Linked DNA regions of Homo sapiens: region 1 is linked to region 2. Evidence: promoter capture Hi-C in human tissues and cell types (Jung and others, 2019). All regions are on one chromosome and are shown on one strand. The core of a region is centred on a gene start or on the middle of the fragment in contact, and the rest is flanking DNA. Distances in the headings are between cores, read along the strand shown. Region 1 overlaps MYH9 (myosin heavy chain 9). Region 2 holds the start of APOL4 (apolipoprotein L4).

Evidence for each region. Contacts are between HindIII fragments. The study calls those that stand out against the background at their distance.
Region 1: a fragment that was not itself captured here is called in contact with the fragment with the promoter of APOL4 in region 2 in 4 of the 25 tissues and cell types used here (aorta, mesendoderm cells, pancreas and 1 more).

The regions. Positions count from the first base shown.
Region 1 is chr22:36,302,928-36,308,235 of GRCh38, forward strand. MYH9 (myosin heavy chain 9) reads right to left here. Exons shown (of 41, transcript NM_002473.6): 16 at 3,487-3,680; 17 at 3,003-3,124; 18 at 2,106-2,175; 19 at 1,068-1,228. Among named protein-coding and RNA genes, the nearest start is that of MIR6819, 19 kb to the left of the region's middle. The HindIII fragment of the contact is 4,653 bases long and covers 40-4,692 here.
Region 2 is chr22:36,200,428-36,205,485 of GRCh38, forward strand. APOL4 (apolipoprotein L4) reads right to left here and starts at 1,382. Exons shown (of 4, transcript NM_001386885.1): 1 at 1,273-1,382. The coding sequence starts at 1,307. RefSeq lists an enhancer at 1,358-1,857. The HindIII fragment of the contact is 28,208 bases long and covers 1-5,058 here.

The sequences.
Region 1 (5,308 bases), core at 1,116-3,615, 100 kb after region 2:
CCCATGGGGGTGAAGGCACGTGTGAAGTAACCACAGATCCTACTCAGTGTGGGGACTGAGCGTGACCCTTGGTGATTAAGCTGACTGGCCCTGGGTGACTCTGGACTTCAGCTTCCCACCCTTCGTGCTGTTCCCTATCTGAGCTTTTGTTTGGTGGGAGAACGTCAGAAGCTGATGTACTGTGAAGGTGGGCTGCAGGTGTCAGCTGGAGGGCTTTTGGATAAACAAGCCTCCATCTGTGCAAATGCTCAAGCTTCGTCTCCCAGAGCTCGGCGCTCCTGCTAGGACCCCATCCCCGAGCACAAGGGGACGAGTGTGCAGTGCCCACAGCCGCTGTCCTGCAGCAGGGGAGCCGTCATTCCCCAGGGAGTCAAAGATGAGTCTGGACTCGAGGATGGCCTGCTCCCCTGGAATCACAGGGTTCTTTAGGGACAGGCAGGCTCTGGGTGCTGTCCCCACAAGGGTCACACGGTAAGGAGTCCTGGTAAGCAGGATCCTTCAGGCAGGCAAATCCAAGCAGAGTCAGCCTCTTCCCACCCATCACTCTAAACCCCAATCAGAAATGCCAGATTCAGCCAGGAGCAGTGGCTCATGCCTGTAATCCCAGCACTTTGGGAGGCTGAGGTGGGCGGATCACTTGAGGTCAGGAGTTCGAGACCAGCCTGGGCAACAATGACGAAACCCCGTCTCTACTAAAAATACAAAAATTAGCTGGGCGTGGTGGCGTGCACCTGTAACCTCAGCTACTAAGTGAGGCTGAGGCAGGAGAATCACTTGAACGTGGGAGGTGGAGGTTGCAGTGAGCCGAGAACGCACCACAGCACTCCAGCCTGGGCGACAGAGTGAGACTCCGTCTCAAAAAAAAAAAAAAAAAAAGAAAAAAAAAAGAACTGCCCGATTCTACTCCTCAAAGGTAGAAATCCAGGAACAGGGGTAGGAAGAGCCACCTGGGCCTCCCTGACAGGCATGTGACTGGCTGCAGCGGGGTGGCCTGCTAAGTGCCCTTTGGCAACAGAAGGGCGTGGCAAGGCCTGGCATGCGGGGCAGGAGTATCTCCCGGGACTCACTTCCTGGCCAGGTAGCCCCTGCAGCAGGCCTGGAACCCTATGATGACGTCGGTGATCTTCAGGTCTCGCTCCTCCTCCAGGTGGGCCAGCACACCGGCACGGAAGAAGACTTTGCTCTGGCCAATGCGGTACAGATTGCTGTCGAGCTCCAGGGCTTTTATCTAGGTGGGAGGAGCAGGCCGTTTACCTGGCCAGCAACTGGCCACAGCTCCATGAAAGGGTGGCCCAGGCACAGCTGGAGGTGTGCCCTTCACCCTTCTTCTCACTGGCTGACGAGCATCTGGAGAGCAGAAAGCCATCTCCTCTCCCTCCTTCTTCCTGTTCCCTATCTCCCCGTCACCGAACGCAGGCTGTGCACACAGTAGGTGTTGAATTTTTCCTTCTCTTTTCCTCCCACCAACTCCCTACTCTGCAGCCAAAGCTTTCTGATTCTTTAGAAAGAACGTGAAGTAAAACAAGGCCAAAGGTAGCAGCTGCTAACCTGGACACGCCAGAAACAACAGGATGCTGGGAAGGGGAAAAAAGGAGCAGGGTGGGATTCAGCCCTGGCTTGGCACTGAGTCACCGCAGGGCTTTCAATCAACCGGAACTCAGAGCATGCGCACAGCCCGTCCAGCACTGCGCTAGGGCTGGGAGTGGGGAGGGAGGGAGGAGAAGCCCAGGTCACGGAGCACCAGGCCTGCTGCCCTGGCTGTGAGCTGCCCTGCTCACCACACTGGATGTGGAGTCAGGCCCGTGAGCAAGAAAGCAGGAGAATGTCCCCCAAACCAAAGAGGCCATCATCTTACATCAGAGCCCGGCCATGGCTACAGTTCTTGTCTCCTCCACACAACCCTGGTGCCAAACACCATCCCTGGCTATCTGAGGCCTAGGGGCTACTGCAAAGGGCGCCCGGCAGAGTCAGACGCGGAGCATCAGAAGGGACACAGCCTGGGCATCCACCGACCACTGATATAGCAAGGTGGGCCCTGGCCACGTGGGCACTCCCCAGACAAGGGGCTGCCCATCCAGAGAGGCAGGGACAGCAGCTCAACTCACCATGAGCACGCACGCCTGCTTCCCGTCCATGAAACCCTTGGGAATGGAGTTTGGAGTCAGGATCTCATATCTGAGGAAGGAAAGAGAAGCCTGGTCATTTTACCCATTGCCTCGATTCCACATGCCTGGAATATAGGCGAGAGATTAACATCATTTCTACAATGCAACAGACACAGAATTCTTTACACAAACTCTCCTAAGGAAAGAAGACACAGGCAAATCCCACCCCACTCTTTTCTTCGGCTGAATGAGACAAGGAAGCCTTGGTGTTTTCCGGAAAGTGAATGGAAACTCGTGTAGGACCGTTTCAATCACTCAAGGGCGTGCTTCAGGTTGGACTAAGTGCTAATTGCCTGAGATCCTCATCTGTCACCCAGGGACAGCCATGTTCACACAGCTTCCCTGGGACGCTGCAGGGAGCTGCTAATAAACAGAGATGGCCCAAGAAATAAAGGGCTGCGTCCCGACAGCAACTGACACTCAGCACAGTCATTAGAGAAACAGGAAGGTGTCGCCGTCTTCGCACACAGCAACGCACGGCCGTGTTTCATTTCCACAAAGTTCCTGTAATATCCTAGGTCTCTGGCTGATTCTTTTACATTTCTTTTCATAGCTCCTCTAACTGTAGCAAATAGCACCAGGGCCGGCAGTTACTAGGAGCAAAAGTCAACAGGATGATGATGACCTGCATTTCGGTATTAAAATGGGGAAGTCTCCTTTCCTGCAAAGGGTGGAAAAGAGAAGGAGGTGGGGAAGAGCTGGCCAGACTCAGTTCTACATGGATGGAGGACGTCGCTCCCTCACGACAGGATCCTGCCAGGGAGCAGCAGCCCACCTCTGGGACTCACTGCACGCACAGCAGGGCCCAGGAGAAGCGGGCTCCGGGCCCTGGCTCACCTCTGCCGAAACTCCTGGAAGACCACCCTGTTGGGGAAGCCCTGGCGGCAGATACGGATGCCCTCGAGAACACCGTTGCAGCGCAGCTGGTCCAGCACGAGATGCGGGTCCAGCTTGCCGGCCTGGAGAAGAAAACACATGCATGCGGTCTCACTTCCGTGCCTAGAACAGTCGGAGAATAGTCAGGGAACCCCTATGAACCTGACAGGGCAAGAGCCTAAGGGAGGGGGTCGCTACAGCCCACAGGTTTGGACAATGAAGTCAAAGGATCCAGGTCTGGGAGGGGCCAATGCCACCAAGAGGAAGTGCAGGCTGTGAATGTAGCGTATCTCCTAAGCGAGCCAAGGCCCACCCTGCAGAGAAACGACTGAAGGCTCTGTGCATGCTGGGGGGCTGGAGGGGTGCTTTTGCTGGGGAGACAGACAAGGGCTGAGCACCCCACACCACAGTGCCCTGCCCGGGCCACCCCACCAGGCAGCCGCACCTTCTTCTCGTGGTTGGGGATGATGCAGCGGACAAAGTTGGGGTTCGTGTTCCTCAGCGTAGCCATCAGCTTGGCCAGCTGCTCCTTGTAAAGCTGCCCCACAGTGCGGAACATGCCCTTCCGCGTCTTGAAGGCCCCGGGCAGTGCGGTCTCCGACATGCCGGCCACCTGGTCCAGGCCGATGATGCGGTCCACTGTGGAGACCACAGAGAACACGTGAGTGCCCACACAGTTGCAGCTGGGTGGTGGGGGAGCACGTAGGAGAGAGAGACAGGCACACGTCGGACAGGAAAAGAGGAGACAGAATGAAACAACAGGACCCTTTCCAATTGGAGCCTACACTGGGTGCTAAGGTCATCCCCAAACACAGCGGGAAGCCAAGGGGGATGCAAAGGCACTGGGCTTGTCTCTTGGGGAGCCATGCATCTGCCATGGCCACCTCACCTTCCTGTCACCTATCTTCAGCCACTCTCGAAGCTCTTATTTCCAAAAAGACTCAATGAAGCTAGTCATGTATTTTGGAATAGTGAGAATTCTACTAGCCTGGCTCTAACGAGGGGTGTGAAAACCTGGCTTACGGAATCCTGCTGTCCTATGGTCACAGTTAGAAAAAAAAAAAATCAGTATCTTGAATTCTCACTGACCCTGTCATAAGAGCACTCGGCTGGGAGTCAGGAGGCAGAGCTTGGGGCCACCCTGTCACTGTCTGCAGAACCTTGCAGGGTCCCCTCTATATCTACGCAGACATCTCAGGAAGGGAGAGCTCCAAAGAACTGCTCTTGATTATAAATACTCCAAAGTTTAGGGATCTCTTCACGTACTTGTATTTCATTTTGTCTCCTGGTGCACGGGTCTTTCTCATGTAAACCGACCCTCAAGGGAAGCAGCCCCTAGCACTGGAACTCACACCCAGCAGCAATTAAACCAATTGCATCCTCCAAGGTAAAAAACAAACAAACAAGCCAAACCAAAGTGGCCAGCGATTTGAGATCAGTTTAAGCAAGAGCTAATGTTAAATGTGAAGCCTTCTATTACTGGATATAAAAGTGAAGAATACTGACGAAGCCCGTTTCGTATTCCTTCACGGCCAGATTACTATTATTTACTTGAAGACAGCAAAAAGGATGCTTGCTTAAGACAGAAGCCAGGAGTGTGGATGGAGCCTACAAACCAGTCAATTAAAATGGGAGGTGGCTGGGCATGGTGGCTCGCGCCTGTAATCCCAGCACTTTGGGAGGCTGAGGCGGGTGGATCACCTGAAGTCAGGAGTTCGAGACCAGCCAGGCTAACATGGTGAAACCCCATCTCTACTAAAAATACAAAAGTTAGCTGGGCGTGGTGGCGGGTGCCTGTAATCCTAGCTACTTGGGAGGCTGAGGCAGGAGAATCACTTGAACCCAGGAGGCGGAGGTTGCAGTGAGCCGAGATTGCACCATGGCACTCCAGCCTGGGTGACAAGAACAAAACTCTGTCTCAAAAAAAAAAAAAAAGGGAGTCATCTTTGACCTTATGTACCCACCACAGGGTCAATATTCCTGGCTACCACAGGTTTCCTGGGCGTGGTAACTTGCAAAAGCCACTCAGGTTGTCCAGAGAAAGGTTAATGTGGCCTCATCATAACTGGCCCTTTTAGCTGAGTGTGTCCTGGCCCCACCCCCATGGAGCAGACCTTGCCGAGCAACTGTTGAATGAACACACAGATGCCACTTCAGCTTTCAGGTGCACAGACACAGCAGTGTGCATACCTGAACCTCATGCTAAGACACTCGCAGCCATTCAAGCAGTTTAAGACGCTGTCTTTAGGCATGAAGCTCTAAGGAGG
Region 2 (5,058 bases), core at 132-2,631:
CCTTGCTTCTCTAAGATCCTTTGTCCCACAAAGACCTGGATCCTGCCAGATGCCGGCCTAGCCCCTGCTGTGGCTGCCGAGCCCTCCTGGCGCTGCCCTGTTCCCTCTGCTGTCCTCCCCTAGCTGATGGACCTTAGGGTGTTTCTAATTCTTCATGTAAATTATGCTACAAAGAACACCCTCCTTCACGTAAAACTGCCCACATTTGATTTTATTTCCTTAAGATATTTGTAGGAGTAGAATGACTAGGTCAGAGGGTATCAACATCTCAAAATGTTTTATACCTAGAGCCACACTACATGCAAATTGTACCAATTCACACTCAAACTAGCAGTATATGAAGATGCCCATTCTTTCAGTCTTACTGGCTCTCAGTAGTCTCTTTATCAGGACAAAAAATATATACACAACATGTAAATTTGAGAACTAAATATCTTGTTATCAATACCAATTAGTACAAACTTTAAGGCACGAAGGTAGCAGTTGAGATGTGAAGCACTGAACAAAGGAGAAGGAGGATTAATATTGTCATTTTTTAAAGATGGAAGTTAAGAAATACTGGGTACAACTGAGGGTATAAGAAAGTTGTAAGTAAATTGTTTACAGCTACAAAGTTGCTAATGGAAGACATAAAACTGGTGATAGAATGTTAGGAAAAGGTGGAGAGGAGAGATAGAGGGAGGGTACAAATAAGATGAAAATGACTAATAATGATACTATAAATAATAACAATACCATTTCAGGCCCATCCCAGTTAGGGGCGGCTCCAAGCATTACCATTGTTCTTTTCTCACCGTGTGTCTCTGCGCACTCCCTGGCACACCCACTTCCAGCAGCTGGTCTTTGTTTGCAGACTTTATTTTAACAGCTCAGTGGTTCCCGGGCCCCCTGATGGGGTTCCATCCTCCAGCTCTCATACTAAAGCCCCCTCCTCAAAAGCCACTCGCCTCCCTCTTTCCCTTTCCTGCCTTTGTCTCAGGGTTCAGACACACAGATGTCTGTCTTCTGGGGCCCCCATGCAACAAGGGTAAAAGGGGGACCCAGTCCTGGGCAGCATTCACCAGGGGAGTATGCAGAGGGGCGTCTGGGCGCTTCTTGCTGTAAGGGACAGGGGTGACAGGAGAGGGGCATCCCTTCGCCTTCTTCCTGCTTTGTTCACTGTGTGACCCCCTAGGCCAAGGCAACCATCTCAACACCATGAGCCAGTAGAACTGGGAGGACCAGGAGAGAGCAGAGGAGCAGGAGGGCAGAGAGCTGGGGCCTCGGACTCACCCGACGCTTGTGATGAGCTGCACCCAGGATCCCATCCTCCTTGGTCATTGTTGGCCTGGCTCAGACGCTGATCTGGGGCCTCTGCTGAATGTTGAGGCTGGATACTGACTGTTAGCCTCAACTAGGACACAGTGCGTCCCCTCTAGGCGAGTCTACCAGTTGGTCAATTCCGGGAAGTGATTTTGGTTCCTAGAAAAACCCACATGGCTCCTGGCCCAGCCCAAGCCCTGCCCAATTGTGCAGCCCAGACAGGGAGCCCTCCCTCCCACCTCAGGGCTCTGAGCCAAGCTCACCAGATGCAGACGACAAAGATTTTCAGCAAAGCAGCTCCCTCCATGTCGCTGCGGGGCCTCCTCCTTGGGCAGGAAAAGAGGGGTTGAGACAGTGTGCTCCTCCTGAGAAATCACCATTTTCATTTCATTTTTAATAAACCGTTTTGCTGTGTCACCCAGGCTGCAGGGCTTTGACGCCATCCTAGCTCATTGCTGCCTAGATCTGCTGGGCTCAAGTGATCTTCCTCCTTCAACCTTCTGAGTAGCTGGGACTACAGGTGCACGCTACCATGCTGGGCTAATTTGTTAATTTTTGATTTCATAGAGACAGCATCTCCTGTGTTTCTCAGGCTGTCTTGAACTCCTGGCCTCAAGTGATCTTCCCGCCTCTGCCTCCCACAGCACTGGGATTACAGGCTTCAGCTATAGTGCTTTCTATCTTGATGGGCATCTCTTTTTGGTGAAGAAAAATCAGGCCGGGAGCGGTGGCTCACGCCTGTAATCCCAGCACTTTGGGAGGCCGAGGCAGGCAGATCACAAGGTCAGGAGATGGAGACCATCCTGGCTAACATGGTGAAACCCCATCTCTACTAAAAATACAAAAATTAGCCGAGTGTAGTGGCGGGCGCCTGTAGTCCCAGCTACTCGGGAGGCTGAGGCAGGAGAATGGTGTGAACCCGGGAGGCGGAGCTTGCAGTGAGCAGAGATTGCGCCACTGCACTCCAGCCTGGGCAACAGAGCGAGACTCCATCTCAGAAAAAAGAAAAAAAAAAAAAGAAAAAGAAAAATAAGACCACGACTCAGATTTCACAGAAATTACCCCCCTGATTTCATGGACTTTTGGCAGCTCTATCAGGTTTCTGAGAGGGGAAAATCTTAGGCTGGGAGGGGAGGTGACTTGCCCAGAGTCGCACAGCTCTTGGAGAGCAGACGGGAAGCCAACATCTGCCCTTGTGACTCTGCTATTGAAGAAAAACGGGTGATTTTAGTAATCCAACAGTGTCCAGGTTTGATTCTGCTTCTACAAACACAGAGATCTAAGCTCTCACTCCTGTAGTTACACTCACAATTCCACAGGTGGCTTTTGAATCTCATGATTACAAAGCTGGCGTCATGCCACAGGCACCATTCTGCAATGCGACCTTCTCACTCCCCTGTCTCAGCCATGTTTCCTATTGCGGGATCTGGCCAGCAGCCCCCAGTGCAACGGGGCTCTCTCTTTGCTCCTAGGCGGATCGGCAGGTTGAGAAATAATAGACACACACAAGATAGTGAAAGCTGGGTCCAGGGGGGTCACCGCCTTCTGGTCAACAATGCACTGGATATACCAGCATTTATTATTCAGTTTAGTGAGGGCGGGGGTAGGTTAGTGAGGGATTTAGGGTCATTTGATTACGAGGTGGGATGGTCACATGGGGATGAAGTAATTCTTTAACATAACATTCGTATGTAGAAGTACAGTGCATTTGTATGTAGAAGTACAGTATACAGAGATAAGAATTTACAATATAGTGTGTGCGTCAGTAATTTCTAACAGAGCCTTAAAACAGAAACACAATCTTTCCATAACCTATGATTAGCAAGATATTAATCAGCAGTAACAATTGCAACAAAAGCTGGTTACTGACAATCCATGGAAACAGGACGTGAAGCTAGATAACCGGTTAGACTAGAAATTCTCAGAAGGGAGTATACCTGAACCCTAAAGATGCCTAGAAGAGCCACGGCAAGATGATAGCATTTATAGCCCTAGCTTGTCCATATGGACAGGCGCCCCCCTGCATCCATTCATAGGCTCTCTGCAGGGGGAAGCACATCACGTGCTGTTGGTTCGTTCTGGCAGTCCAACCTGGCATTGTCTTTACACAATCCTGCATGCAATTTTGTATTTACAATAATCAGGAGCATTTCATCTTTTATTCCGTAGCAATAGTTTCAGGGGGTCTCCCTACAGTTTCCCATTAGGGACACAGCACAGCCTGTTTCTTCTCCATCACCCCAGAGGTCTGAACAGAGGGACAGAGGTGAGGGCCACAGACATGGAGTCCTATGATCTACCTGCTCAGCCTCCTGACACTGGACCCTGGGCAAGTCACTCCCCTCCCAGGGCCTCAGTTTCCCCACAGGGCCTGGCACAAGTAGGTGCTCAGACTCAGGGTGGGTGAGATGACCTCTAGGTTCCTTGTATCTCAAAAGAAATCTCTTGCCTCATCAGGCCTCAGCAGCCGCACCCCGGGGCCAGCCTGGTTGTGGCCAGACCATAAGGACAGACCGGGCTCCAGGTCACCTCCCCACCTCCACCTTCTTTGATTCCTTCAAATTTCCCAAAGAGATGGGCACCCCCAACACAAACCTTCCTTCTGGGGTCACCTGGCCATGTCTCAGCAGTCTAAAACAGAGCTGAGCCCAGAGAGCTTTGTGAACCCATCTGAGCTATTTCCCCACCTCTCTCTACGGTTTAAGGGCCCAGCAGGAGGGAGGGAGCAATCAGACTCAAGCCTGGGTGCAAATCCCGGCTCTACCACTGCTTTCCTGTCTGATCTGAACGAGTTACCTAACCTCTCCGAGCTTATCTACAAAAGCTGAATGATCCTTCCCTCATAGAGCTATTGCGAGAATAAGGAGATGGAGGGAGGTCACACCATCCCCAACTTACCAAGGGATCTTCCTCTGACAGAGACTGAGCAAGATCCAGCTGGTCTGAGCTGTGTGGATCTCACCTCCAGCTGTGCACCTATATAATAACCAGACACGTCCTCCAGCCCCCAAGATATACCCAGGAATTCGAAAGGTAAAATGAAAGTCACAACTTCCCAGCAGCTCACAATCAAGCACAGCAAACACGCTGCTCCCCAGCACCTCCTGCAGTCCAGCCCCACCCTCCTTGCTGCTGCGCTTAGAGGAGCAGCCTGAGACCAGACCTCCAGGTCTCTTTCATCCAACCCACCTGCCTGGCATCCTCGGGGTTGGGGGTCTGCTATAGTCTTCAGGAAGAAAGACCTGCCACTGACATACTGTGGGACCCTTCAGATTACTCCCCGTCCTCCCGTGCTTCCACATTCCCCTGATGCCTGCCTTACTCCTGCCCATACCATCAGCATTTGCACAGTCTCCTACACATGCCAAGTGGATCCTTATTGTATATTTATTGTAAGGCCATTGGGGTTATTTTGGTTTTGTTCTGGAGACAGGGTCTCACTCTGTAGCCAAGGCTGAAGTGCACCGCCACAGTCATAGTGCACTGCAGTTTCAAACCCCTGGGCTCAAGCCATCCTCCCACCTGAGCCTCCTGAGTAGCTGTTTCTACAGGCATCAGCCAACCACCCAGCTAATTTTTAAAAAAGTTATATTAGAGATGGTGTCTCACTATATTGACTGGGCTACTCTTGAACTCCAGGCCTCAAGTGATCCTCCCACCTTGGCATGAGCCACCGCACCAGGCCTGCTCTTGTTGAAGGCCATGGCTTGTGGCTTCTAGATATTTGCTTATGTGGGGTCTTCTGCCGGGATCCCC